3 separate regions of the Homo sapiens genome follow, and regions 1 and 3 are each linked to region 2. Evidence: promoter capture Hi-C in 16 types of primary human blood cells and fetal thymus (Javierre and others, 2016). All regions are on one chromosome and are shown on one strand. The core of a region is centred on a gene start or on the middle of the fragment in contact, and the rest is flanking DNA. Distances in the headings are between cores, read along the strand shown. Region 1 overlaps GPC6 (glypican 6). Region 2 holds the start of GPC6 (glypican 6). Region 3 overlaps GPC6 (glypican 6).

Region 1 (4,162 bases), core at 671-3,170, 1.2 Mb before region 2:
ATATGACCAGCAGGAACTCTTTAACAGTTTTAAGAGAGAGACACTGCACTGCAGGGTTTATTGCCCGGGAAAGCCTCCTTTCCTCTCCCTCAGTCCTCCTCTAGACGAGAGTTCTCAGGTAATTGGCTTTTTGTTTTCCATCTTTTCTGTCCTTCAATCCTTTGAATTAAAAACTTACGAAGCATCACGCCTGGCTTCGGGTCCCTCTCCTGCTGAGAGTCCCTATTGTGAACACCCCAAGTATAGTCTCTAGAATTCATTTGCTTGCATGTCAGACAACTGTACCAAAACAAATGCACCAAGAGATAAATACTTTTCCCAATGGACTCCTTGTTTCTGCAAAAAATAAATATTGCCACTAATTCAGCTGCTGGTACTTATGCTCTAGTGCAAATGACAGGCCCTTAGAGCACACACATGGGTGGTAAGCAATAAACCAAACCCTCTTAAAAATCTCTAGAACTGAAAGAGAAGTCATTCTAAATACGGGTAAGTGTAAAATTCACAGCCCTGTGGATGGATGGCCAGGAAAAGCTTAGTGCCAGCATCTTAAGTGTCTTCAGGCTGAACACTGACTTTTCACTTGCAGAAAGGGTAGGAAGAGGAATTTAATTTCATTTTGGCTTCATAATGAACATTGGGAAAGTCCAGAGATGGCTGGAATGCATCTGTTATGAATTGAATTCTTTTCCTCCCCTTAACGTGTTAAATTCCTAACCCTTGGTACCTCAGAATGTGACTTTATTTTGAGATAGGGTCATGACAGAGCTAAAGAAGTTAAAGTGAAGTCATGTGGGTGGGCCCTCACTCAATATGATATGTGCTGATAAAAAGGGGAAATTTGAGCACACAGACACACACAGAGGAAAGAAAATATGAAGAGACACAGGAAGAAGATGCCCATTTACAAGCGAAGGAGAGAGGTCTAGAAGGGATCCTTTCCTCCTAGCCCTCAGAAGGACCCAACCCCGCCGACACCTTGATTTCAGACTTCCAGCCCCAGAACTGTGGGATAGTAAATGTCTGTTGTTTTAAGTAACTCAGTTTGTGGTACTTTGTTATGACGGCCTTAGCAAACGAATACAGACGTAAAAAAATGTTGAGTCAACATTTGATGGGGAATGGGATATTTACAGAATCTCAAAGTACCTAGTAACACAGATTATTTATTAATTACAAAAGGAAAACTAGTAATTTTACAGTGTGGAAACTTGGCAGGCTGCCACCTTCATCAAGTGATGAAGCAAGGGGACAAATTGGTCACTTGTTCCTCCTGATGTGATGTCCCAAGATGGACACATCACTTAGGCAGCCCCAAATTTATAATCTGAATCTAATCATGAGGACATATCAGACAAACCGAAACTCAGGGGCATTCTGAAAACCAGCTGGCCTCTACTCATCAAAAATGTCCATCATAAAAGACAAGAAAAAGCTGAAGAGTCCTTCCAGATGAAGAATAAGAGACATGATAGCCAAATGCAGCAGAGGGCTCTGGACTAAATGCTAGGTCAGAAGGATAATTGCCAATAAAAGACATTATTGTGATAGTGGGCAAAATTTGTATGCTGGCTCTCTATTAGATAATAGTATTATGTAGTGTTAAATTTCCTGGACATAAAATCATACTGTGGTAACACAGGAGAATACTGTACTCTTGGGAGACACACGCTAGAGGATTTAAAATGAAAGGGGTATAATTTCCACAACTTGCTCTACAACAGCTCAGTAATAATCAAGAATAACAATAAATATACAGATGTATAAAGAAAAAGAGAAAAGGTAAATGTGGCAACTTTTTAATATCCGGCAAAGCTAGATGAAGAGTATAAAATTTTTCAAAAAATGCAATTTTCAGTTAAGTTTGACTTTTTTTTCAAAGTAAAATGTGAAAATGTGAAAAACAATTTCTCACATTTTATTTGTTCTACGTAGTGTCCACTTTGGTGCCCTAACCTCCATTAAAGGCGTGCCCACAATAGGCCACTCATTCTTACTCTTTTCAAAACAATCCTCAGAGAAAGAAATACATGTTTTATATTTATATCTGGTTCAGAAAATGACCACGACCTTTAGGACTGAAATACTGTCAGGTTTATTCTGTCCCATAATAAAATAAACTAAGAATGAGCATTCTCTTTCTTCTGATTTTGTACTACAATCCTACCTCCACGTTATGGGAATCTAAACCAGATACACAGATTTTGAGACTCAGATAAAGAACAAAGTTGCATGCCGCCCCACAGGTGTCTCCTTTCAGTATGTGCAGAATTTAATGGTGGATGTTGCACTACTCATTCTTTAAATTATTCTCAAACGTTGTCTTCTTCGGGGTGCGTTCTTGGGTCCCCAGCTTAGATTTAGATTCAGCTTTCTGCGCTGCGCTATGCCCTCTTGATGATTCTAACTACTGATCACTCCAAACTCTAATAATTGGCTTATTTTTCTGATTCTCTTTTAGACAACATGCTTTTTGTTGGCAGAAATAGGGTTGTAATTTATCTTTATCCACAGTGTCCAGTATGGGTCAAGTGACTAATAGTCCTATTTGCCACAGCTTAGGGGATTCCAGGGTGACGAGTTTTCAGCACTAAAATGGGAACGTCCCAGGTAAACCAGGATTAGTTGGTCACACAGGTCTAAGCACACAGTACATGCTCAATAAATGTTGGTTAAGATAATGGATTGAATTGTCCCATTCTATTACAAGGTCATAGACTGTATGGTTAACACAAATTAGCTGGGGTCACAATACTGTGTGTTCATCGTCCCAAGAGGGGTGGGAGAAAACTGTGGGGTTGTATTTGGCTAAGTGAGGAGCCCGTCGCGATGATGGGGATGTGGGTTTTCTCTCATTGTTTACCCCAGCACATTTATAATCAGAGTGTGTTCCCTCTGGCATTTCAGTAGCTGTGCGTTTTCATTGTGCAGTTGAAGGAGATAACATCAAAGGAGCAGTGAGAAATGTAGATGCCGTTTTAACATTCTGCACGGAAACACTGGCCAATTCACCTGCAGACGGTGATGGTGAGGCAGACGGCTGAAAAAATGGACACTATTAGCCACTGGAAAAGAACATGCCTTTGATTCATTTATATCTGAATGATGGCAGTTTATTTTTCAATATCAGGAAGGCCTTTCAACTTGCACATCATTTAGAAATGTTTTTCTCATTTTATTTATTTATATTTCTGAATAATATATGTAACTGCTCTGCTGTAGCTCCGGACCTGAGGTTTTTGTTTTTTTGTTTTTTTGGTTTTTTTTCCTGGAAACTTAAGTGCACACAACTGTGAATTAAGCTTTATGTTAACAAACACTCTTAGTACAAATATATTACTGACAATGACAGTGAGCCCTAATTCATTAATAACACACCAGATGGGAACAAGGACTTGGGATAAAATACAAAATTTAGAACAATTTCCTTTCTCTGATTCCTGGATGAGCTATTCTAGGACAAATGAACTCTTACCAATACTTGTGAACAGTATTTACGATCGCTCCAATATTGTATTAGTAATGCTGTAATATTAGTAATCCCAGTAATATTTAAGTATTACTTTTTTCATCTATGCTATTGATAGATTCTGGAAGTTAAACAACAACTACTGTTATGTCTCTGGAAACTGATCCAAACATATACTGTTGGGGTCCATAGGAAAAACATGAGCCCTCTTTTAGGATTTATCTGGAGCTGATTCTGATTTCTGATAATTGCAACTTCTGATGTCAGTAGAGACAAACACTCTTAGTTTAAGACCTGTCAAAAGGACCATGAACACTTGACTCTATTAGGAAGAGAGGGCATCCTTCTCATACCTACCATTACAGTACTGTAAAATTAGACAAAAGAGGGAGGAAGGTGACAAGGTGGAATGATTGCTAAAAACAGAATAGCAAAGCCAATGACCAGAAAGAACTATCTAAGTACTCTTCTGTGACAAATTCACCTAAGAATTAATCTTGCTCCAAATATTTCACCTGAATCCCATCAAGTTTCTGACTTAAAAAAATCAGTTTACAGGAAATACTGGCAATAGAGGAAAAAACTAAGTAACACCATAAATAATCAGACACATCCAGTGATGAGATATTATTATTATTATTATTATTTTATTATTATACTTTAAGTTTTAGGGTACATGTGCACATTGTGCAG
Region 2 (3,969 bases), core at 1,235-3,734:
CTTTTAAAAAGTTGAATTCCCTGAGATTTGGGGAGGGAAAAAAAAAAGCGAAGCTGATCCTTATCAATTAATTAAAAAGAATGAAATAACAGTAGACAAAGGAGAAGGAGAGTTAAGAAACTTAAGGAGCTGTGGGGACAGTCGCTCTCTATTCATTGATTAACAAATTAAGGAGTTCTGGAAAAGAAGGAAGAAGTAACAAGGATAGAAAAGTAGGCTTATAATTCACCACAGATTCTAACTTAGACTCAGCAAAGGGAATGTCTGGCTCTGAACTGAAAAAGCTCCTTCTATATAATGAGCGTGGTAATTTGCGCCTCTTTTTTTCCCCCTTTGCCAATGCTCAAATTTATTTAAATGTGTTCATTTCAGTGTAAGTAAAAACCCTCACTTCTACAGCTTGAAAATCATAAGAAAATAGTAATTCCTCAACGTATCGAAACTGTGATGTTCTAAGATATCTGCAAAATGCTTTTCATCCATCCACCAGTTATTTGGCAAAAAGCAGACAGAGGCTGGTGGAAATTCAGCGTTTTGACTTGACGATCTGAGGTCACTAAGGACTTCAGCTGCCCGGTTTGAGCAGCCCGCGCCCTCGCAGCATCTCCTGGCCTCCCTCGGCCTCTCTCAGTTCTGTTCTTTAGCAGCCAAAGGATTATCTCTCCCCGACACGTTTCATTCACAGAGCCCCAGAGAAGCTCGGATTCGGTTGGAGCTAAGAGCCGGAAAACAAGCACCCAGACTGCCGCGCAAGTTGTCGGAGACCAAGTGCTACACACACTGGCGCCGAGAGAAAGGGTGGGCGCTCTCAAGCTCTTGGTGGAGCAATGCCAGTGGCCGGGCATGCGGGGGACACGGGGCCCCCGAACCCGGACCCGAATCCCCAGCTGAGCCACCCGCTAAAGTTGGCTGTTCGCTGGCAGACGAGGCCGGCTCCAGACCGGGTGGCAGGGTGTCCCCGGGCCCTGAGTGGCCAACAGCAACTGGGGAAGCACTGAGGAACCCTAACGGGAAAGCCCGCCCCACATCTGAAACAGGCAGCCCGTGAAGTCCCCAAACCAGCCTTGAAACGCCGGCGTCCAGAGGCCAGGTCCCCGGCGAGGGTCCCTCCCAGCCTTGCCCGCCCCCGGCCCGAGCGCCGGGCGCTCTGTCGCCCGAAGGACGGATAGGGGAGAGAGGGGCTGGGGGAGCCCTCCGCGTCTCTCCACCGCCCCTGCCGGCGCAAGGGCGGGAGTGGAGAAGGCGCCACTCAGACTGTGGCGCTGGGCAAACTGCGGTCGCAGTTCTTCCAAGTTTGCCCGAACCAGAACGCGGAGTGAGCGCCCGGCTCGGCTCTCCGTCTGCGCCTTGCAGCCGCCCCGGAGTGACCCGGGCTCCCTGGCCAGCCGGGCCTGAGCCATCAACTAAGGGGTAGAAGGGCGCGAGAGCAGCGGGAGGCGGGAGCCAGGGTGCTCCCGCGTGTGCACACAATGAGGCGGCGGAGACGCACACCTTCCCCCGCCGAAGAAGCCGCAGGAGCATCCGCCGCCCAACACGGAGACGCGGAGTCCCATAGCGGTGGCAGAAAGTGAGCACCAACTCAGCAACAGGGGGAAGGAAGGGGACGCCGGGCGGCCAGTGGGACGTGCGGCAGCCGAGGGCTGCAGCCTGCCCCTGCAGCGCGCCCGCGCTTACCTGCGATCTCCTGGTAGGGGATGTCCGCCAGGCTGAATCCCTTGGCACCGTACGCCTGGCGGACCTCTCCGCAGCTCCGAGCCTTCACATCCGCCCCGGCGGGGAGGGAGAGCAGCAGCCCCAAGAGGGGAAGAATCACAGCCCCGATCCAAGAAGGCATGGTGCAACATACAAATCCAGCTCGGTAAACCCCACGGCCGGTGCGCTCTTCACCTTGCCCCTCAAGCCGAAAGCCCGCCAGAGGCAGCGGCGCGCTCCTCGCCGCTGCCCAGCGTCACCCCCTTCTGCCAGCCGAGGGGACGAGCAGCGCAGCCCTCTGGACTGCGCTCAGCAAACTTTTATAAGCCAGATGGACGATGGCAAGCCAACAAGGGCTGGCTGGGAAGGCTGCTGCCTTGCTCCTCTAGCCCCCAGATGGAAACGGTGCAATCAAAACGAGGAAGAGAAGGAAAAGAAGTGTTTAAAAAACCACCATGGGGGTTCAGAGCTGCAATCCGAGTTCCGAGCCGCAGAATCCTGGAGCGCTGCGGGCTCGGCTCGCCGGAGTGTGCGGCAAAGGTGGGAGCGCGCGCCGGCTCCCCCGGGAGGGAGATGGACAAGCGAGAGCGAGTGTGTATGCGCGCGTGTGTCTGTTGGTGTGAGCTCGAGGTTCTTGGGGATGTGTGTGCGTGGAGGTATGTGTTGGGGATATACGAGATCTAGGGGAAACCTCAGCTTAACACAGGCTGTGGGAGCCTGTGAGAGTCCTCCTGAAATAGGAAGAGAGAAATCCTGGAGACAGTCACTGGAGGCAAGAGGGAAGGAGAAAGGAGGGGGGAGAAAGAAACGTGCTACACATTGCACAGCCGAAATTCACAGGCCGAGTCAAAGGCAAAACCTGGACTGGATCTCTTCCTAGTCGGTAGAAAGGGGAAAAAAAGAAAAAGAAACGTACCTATTTTCTTATTCACTTCACATCCTTTATACCGATCTGAAATGACATCAATAAACAATCTAGAAAGACAAGGTAATTTTAAGTCATTAACATGTTATTAAGCTGTATTTTTATGGAGGTAAAGGATAACGCAGTTCCAATTGTTGCTCTTAATATGTGTCCCTGACCTACTGAAACACAAAGCCAGAGTGGAAATAGTCATAGACGGGAGTTCATGGGTGGCAGAGCACAATCACGGCTCTAACTAGTTGCCTAATTTCTGTTTGACTTTGTTTTTTTCTAAAGGCACACATTACAGACTGGTAGTTCTTAATTTTTAAAGGTTTGGTTCTAGACTCAACAATTTCCCCTTTTTTTATTTCAAATATCTCATAGCCTTCGATCAGAAATCATTATGCTTAGGTTTCTAATGTGTGGAGGATCGGGAAAGCTAACAACCAGACCACAGAAGCAACAAGAAAAGGAGAGCACAAGGGTCAGAGGTGCATAAAGGGACATAATGGGGGAAGGGAGGTGATTCCTTCCCTCTCACTAGATGCCCTCACATAGTAGACTTAACATTTTCTTCCAAGTTAACATAATTCTCAAGTGGAGAATCAATCCAATTTCTTCTTCCTGTCTCCATTTACACTGATGTTCTGTGAACGGGATAAAAGTGAAAATTCAGGTTTGCCTAATTGACTTTGTTATGCTAATGGACGCACTAAAGTCAGCTGGCAGAAGTGTGTGTTGAAACCCAGAGCTCCTGAAACTACTAAGATAGTTTAATGAAAACCAAGACAAAATAATAATAATAATAGTGTTTATTCACTTACGTGGCTATGTGTCATAGGTCAGCACATTATTCACAAACTACTACAAGGTAATGCACAGTTTTGTGGAGCTCACCTATGAAGCTACACATGAAGATGTTTTCCTGATGATGATATGAATGACCAGAATGACTCATGAAGTTTAAATCTTTGAGTTTGTCATTATCATCACAACATATTAGGTACATTGTCTTCCTCTCTTTAATAAATTCCCCCTCTCCTAACCACCAAAAAGACTCTCAAGATTCAACCTCATTTAACCTTTCCAAACGCTTTAAAAATGAAGTCGACTTATTTACAGAGCCACTTTGTCTTCTTCAAACTCATAGGTCAAGACAAAACAAAACCAAAAAAAAAAAAAACAAAACAAAACAAAAAAAAAAACTCCATAGCTAAATCTTTCTGAAAACGCAACACACTTAACTTTTTTTCTCTTAAAATTTTAGCACAGTTTTTTGCTTTCACAATATTTATGCTAACTGGCAGATCTTAAATCACTGAACTTATTTTCCCTCAAGTCGGAAATCAAGATAAAATATATTCTGGTTA
Region 3 (3,910 bases), core at 616-3,115, 1.1 Mb before region 2:
ACTGGAATCTGAAAGATCAAACGCCAGGGGCTTTCTGTTAATAGATTTGGTAGCTAAGCAGTGGTATTTAGAAAATAGCCTTTATCTCTTCAAAAAAAAAAAGGTCTCAGCAAAAGGAGCTCTGAATGTAAATAATTAGAATGATTTGTGTCAAGTTAGCCTCAATATTAGGTTGCTTTTCTATTACTTCTTTGACGAGCCTTATGTTTTATTCCTGATGCACTGGAAAGTCATAGTATAATGATCATGCTGGCATGTGAGGTTACACTGTGAGTCTTTCTGAACAGAATGGAACCCTAACCTCTCAATTTTTCCCCTAGATTAATAAATATAAAATTCACTGATATTATTTTTTGTATTTTTCTCATTAGAAGCTACTTCTGAATTTTTATACTATGCCATGGTGATCCATAAATGACAAATTCCAATATGCTTCATGCTCTTTATTATTCTTTTTAGTATAATTAAAGGAAAGTTAAACAGTCTTTTGAAAATAGTTTTCATTTTATTTCTTCAAATTATTTCCTATGTGGAAAACCGACCTTCTTTTTCAAGCCAAATCACAAATATTTAAAAAAGGCCTAGTGCATTTTCAATTTGCTTCTTTTGTCCTCAAAAAGGTAAGAGGGTTTCTCAATGTTTTTTCCAAAGATAACTGAAAGTGGGGTGTTATTTATCCAAGTGCCTAAATGAGATATACCAGTAAGTTCCCCTTCTCCATTATTTATATGGTCGAGAGGAAAGGACAAACTTCAGAGGAGCTAGAACTTTTGTCCAGAACTTGATTTTACTTTTTTTGGTCCAAAAAGGTGACTCCACAACAAGAAGAGACACTTAGAAATCTCTTTCGCTTGACATTTTAAAAACAGTTTTTTTCTGAAAACAAAGCCATTAGAACAGGCTTTCCTAAAACATGATGAAAAAGAGGATTTCAGGAAAAACATGCTGAGTATCCTAGAAAATCATGGAAACTCTGTAGTCATCTTTACAAGGAAAAGAGCTTTTCCCTGATCAAAAATGGTTAAGGCATAGGTGGTCCTGGGGTCACCATGCCAAGGTGTTCACACAATGTGCTCTCAGTACAGACACAGGTACTAGACCTGCAGTCTGGAGATTCGCACTCTTAACTTGTATCCCCAACTCATCCTGATACACGGGAAATCTGAAAACTCAGACCCATGGGGTTAAAGAGTAGACAGTGTGATCTCTCCAGGGCAAGCTCAACCCTGTGACTTCAACTTTGTTTTCTTTCTCTGAAAGGTCTTTTAATTTTCAGATTTAGTCTAGCTTTTTATATCCATCTTTTCACTTCTTCTAAGCCTATAGGTCAGGTTCTCATGACCAATGAATCTGATTGCAGTAATTAAAAAAAATCTGTCTTTATTTTCTTTACTTAGTTTTTTGAATATGTAGTACTGCTGCCATAACTTAATTCATGGTCCTTTTTCTTTTTTTCCTTTTTCTTTTTTTTTTTTTTTGACGGAGTCTTGCTCTGTCGCCTAGGCTGGAGTGCGGTGGCACTATCTCAGCTCACTGCAACCTCTGCTTCCGGGTTCAAGTGATTCTCCTGTCTCAGCCTCCTGAGTAGCTGGAACTACAGGTGCATGCCACCACACCAGGCTAATTTTTGTATTTTTAGTAGAGATGGGGTTTCACCATACTGGTCAGGCTGGTCTCGAACTCCTGATGTCAGGTAATTCACCCTCCTCGGCTTCCCAAAGTGCCATGGTCCTTTCTCTTAAAGACCAATGGCAATGGCTGTATCGCTGCATGTGTTCATGCATTCAGTCAACAAACATTCATTAAGGGTTTTCTCTGTGCAAGATACCGCATTAGGCATTGGGGCTACAAAGATGAAAAGACATCGGTTCTACTTTCAAGGAGCTTTCTCTTCTGTGGAGGTATAGACATAAAAACAGACAGTAGTACAACGTGATGTCAACATTGACAAGAACTGAGTTGAGAAGAATGAAAGCTGAGTGTAGAGTATGTATTTTCAAGAGCAGAAACCAGTGACCCAAAGTTAATTAAACTGAGATCAAATGGGAAAAGGTAAGGGCACTTACACCACAGTAAAGGGGATAGGGCATAACAGGTTAACTCAGGACCAGTGAAAATAGACACATGGTGGTGGTACCTTAGGGCTGTGACCACTTAATGAGAAAACCAATCAATTTCTAGGGAGGGTTCAAGGAGCGAGGGAGGCATTCTCAAGGCCTGGGTACCATCAGTTGGCCAAGAGTGCCGCAGAATTGTGTGTTCACGCTGTATCTTACAGGCGATGCATGCAGCTTCTGATGGATAAGTATTACCCGCGGAGCATCAGATGGTCCAGAGGTACAGAGTAGGGGTCCTGGGTCTGCCAAGTAGGGGCTCTAGGGAGAAGCTCCCACAGGGGTCTCTCTGTCTCTCTGAGCTGATCTTGAAGAGTGAGCTGGTGTTGGGGCTCCCAATCAGATGGAGCCCATGTTGAAAGGCTCATGTGGACCAAACCCACTAAGGGTTTGGAAAGTAGTTAGTTTGGTGCAACTGAAAGGCAAAGTGCATATGTTGGAGAGGCAGGAGTTGGGGCCAGAGAAGTGGGCCAGGAGATCCTACAGGGTTTTATAGTCTACTGTGAGCAGTTTAGTATTTTTTCTGGAGAATCATTGAAGGGTGCTAGAACAGCCCAGGTGGGGTCCAGAAGGATACACAGGTATGGCGCTGGGAAAGCCAGGTGGGGTGGGCAATGGTCCAGATTGATGACAGGGGACAGACGAGTGGTGTCTTGTTCACATCTATCAATCATGGATTCTTAACTGGCAACTCCATGACACATTTTCCATTTTAAATGCATTATTTCATTTTTACCTTTTCTTTTTTTGAGACAGGGTCTCACTCTGTTGTTCAGGCCAGAGTCCAGTGGTGCAATCCTAGCTCACTGCAGCTTTGAACTCCCGGGCTCAAACAACCCTCCCGCCTCAACCTTCCAAGTAGCTTGGATTACAGATGCATGCCACCATGCCCAGCTACATTTTTCATTTTAATTAGGCTCTACTTCTCACAGAGCCCTATTTCCCTTTCCACGTGCTCCCTGCCAGCTCAAGCCTTTGCTTATGTTACTTGCCAGAAGTAACTTCCTTCACCAGGAGTGATGGCTCTTCTCTTAGCCTATCCACAGCTGCTTCATCCTTTCAGGCAGATCATGCAGATAAAGTAAATTAGAGAAGCGAGCTGAGTTTGTTTGTTCATTCATCAAACATCTACTCTTTTTCAGGTACTCTCCTAGGTACCAGGGATGAAGTAGTGAACAAAAGAGGGCAAAAACCCCTTCCTTTATGGAGCCTACATTTGCATTACAAGATTCCAACAACAAATGAAATAAACCAGTAAAATATATAGCATTGTGGAAGAGAGTGTGGTGATTCCTCAAAGACCTAGAACCAGAAATGCCATTTGACTCAGCAATCCCATTACTGGGTATACACCCAAAGGAATATAAATCATCCGGTTATAAAGACACATGCACGCGTATGTTCATTACAGCACTATTTACAATAGCAAAGACATGGAATCAACCTAAATGCCCATCAAGGATAGACTGGATAAAGAAAATATGGTACATGTACAGCATGGAATACTATGCAGCCAGACAAAGGAACAAGATCATGTCCTTTGCAGGGACATGGATGGAGCTGCAGGGACATGTCCTTTGCAGGGACATGGATGGAGCTAACACAGGAACAGAAAACCAAACAGCATTTTCTCACTTATAAGTGGGAGCTGAACAATAAAAATACATGGACACATGGAGGGGAACAATACACACTGGGGCCTGTTGTGGGGGCAGGGGGAGGGAGAGCATCAGGATAAATAGCTAATGCATGCGGGGTTTAATACCTAGGTGATGGGTTCATAGGTGCAGCAAACC

Evidence for each region. The method cuts DNA at HindIII sites, captures the fragments that hold promoters and counts their contacts. A CHiCAGO score of 5 or more calls a contact.
Region 1: a contact is called between a fragment that was not itself captured here and the fragment with the promoter of GPC6 in region 2, in 1 of 17 cell types (fetal thymus). The highest score is 6.0, in fetal thymus.
Region 3: a fragment that was not itself captured here is called in contact with the fragment with the promoter of GPC6 in region 2 in 1 of 17 cell types (M2 macrophages); the score reaches 5.7 in M2 macrophages.

What each region holds. Positions count from the first base shown.
Region 1 is chr13:94,378,156-94,382,317 of GRCh38, reverse strand. The region is part of intron 6 of GPC6 (glypican 6); the gene reads right to left. Among named protein-coding and RNA genes, the nearest start is that of DCT, 99 kb to the left of the region's middle. The HindIII fragment of the contact is 2,768 bases long and covers 537-3,304 here.
Region 2 is chr13:93,225,322-93,229,290 of GRCh38, reverse strand. GPC6 (glypican 6) reads right to left here and starts at 2,484. Exons shown (of 9, transcript NM_005708.5): 1 at 1,675-2,484. The coding sequence starts at 1,834. RefSeq lists a silencer at 701-995 and an enhancer at 1,049-1,891. The HindIII fragment of the contact is 13,324 bases long and covers 1-3,969 here.
Region 3 is chr13:94,355,855-94,359,764 of GRCh38, reverse strand. All of the region lies in intron 6 of GPC6 (glypican 6), which reads right to left. Among named protein-coding and RNA genes, the nearest start is that of DCT, 120 kb to the left of the region's middle. The HindIII fragment of the contact is 8,212 bases long and covers 1-3,910 here.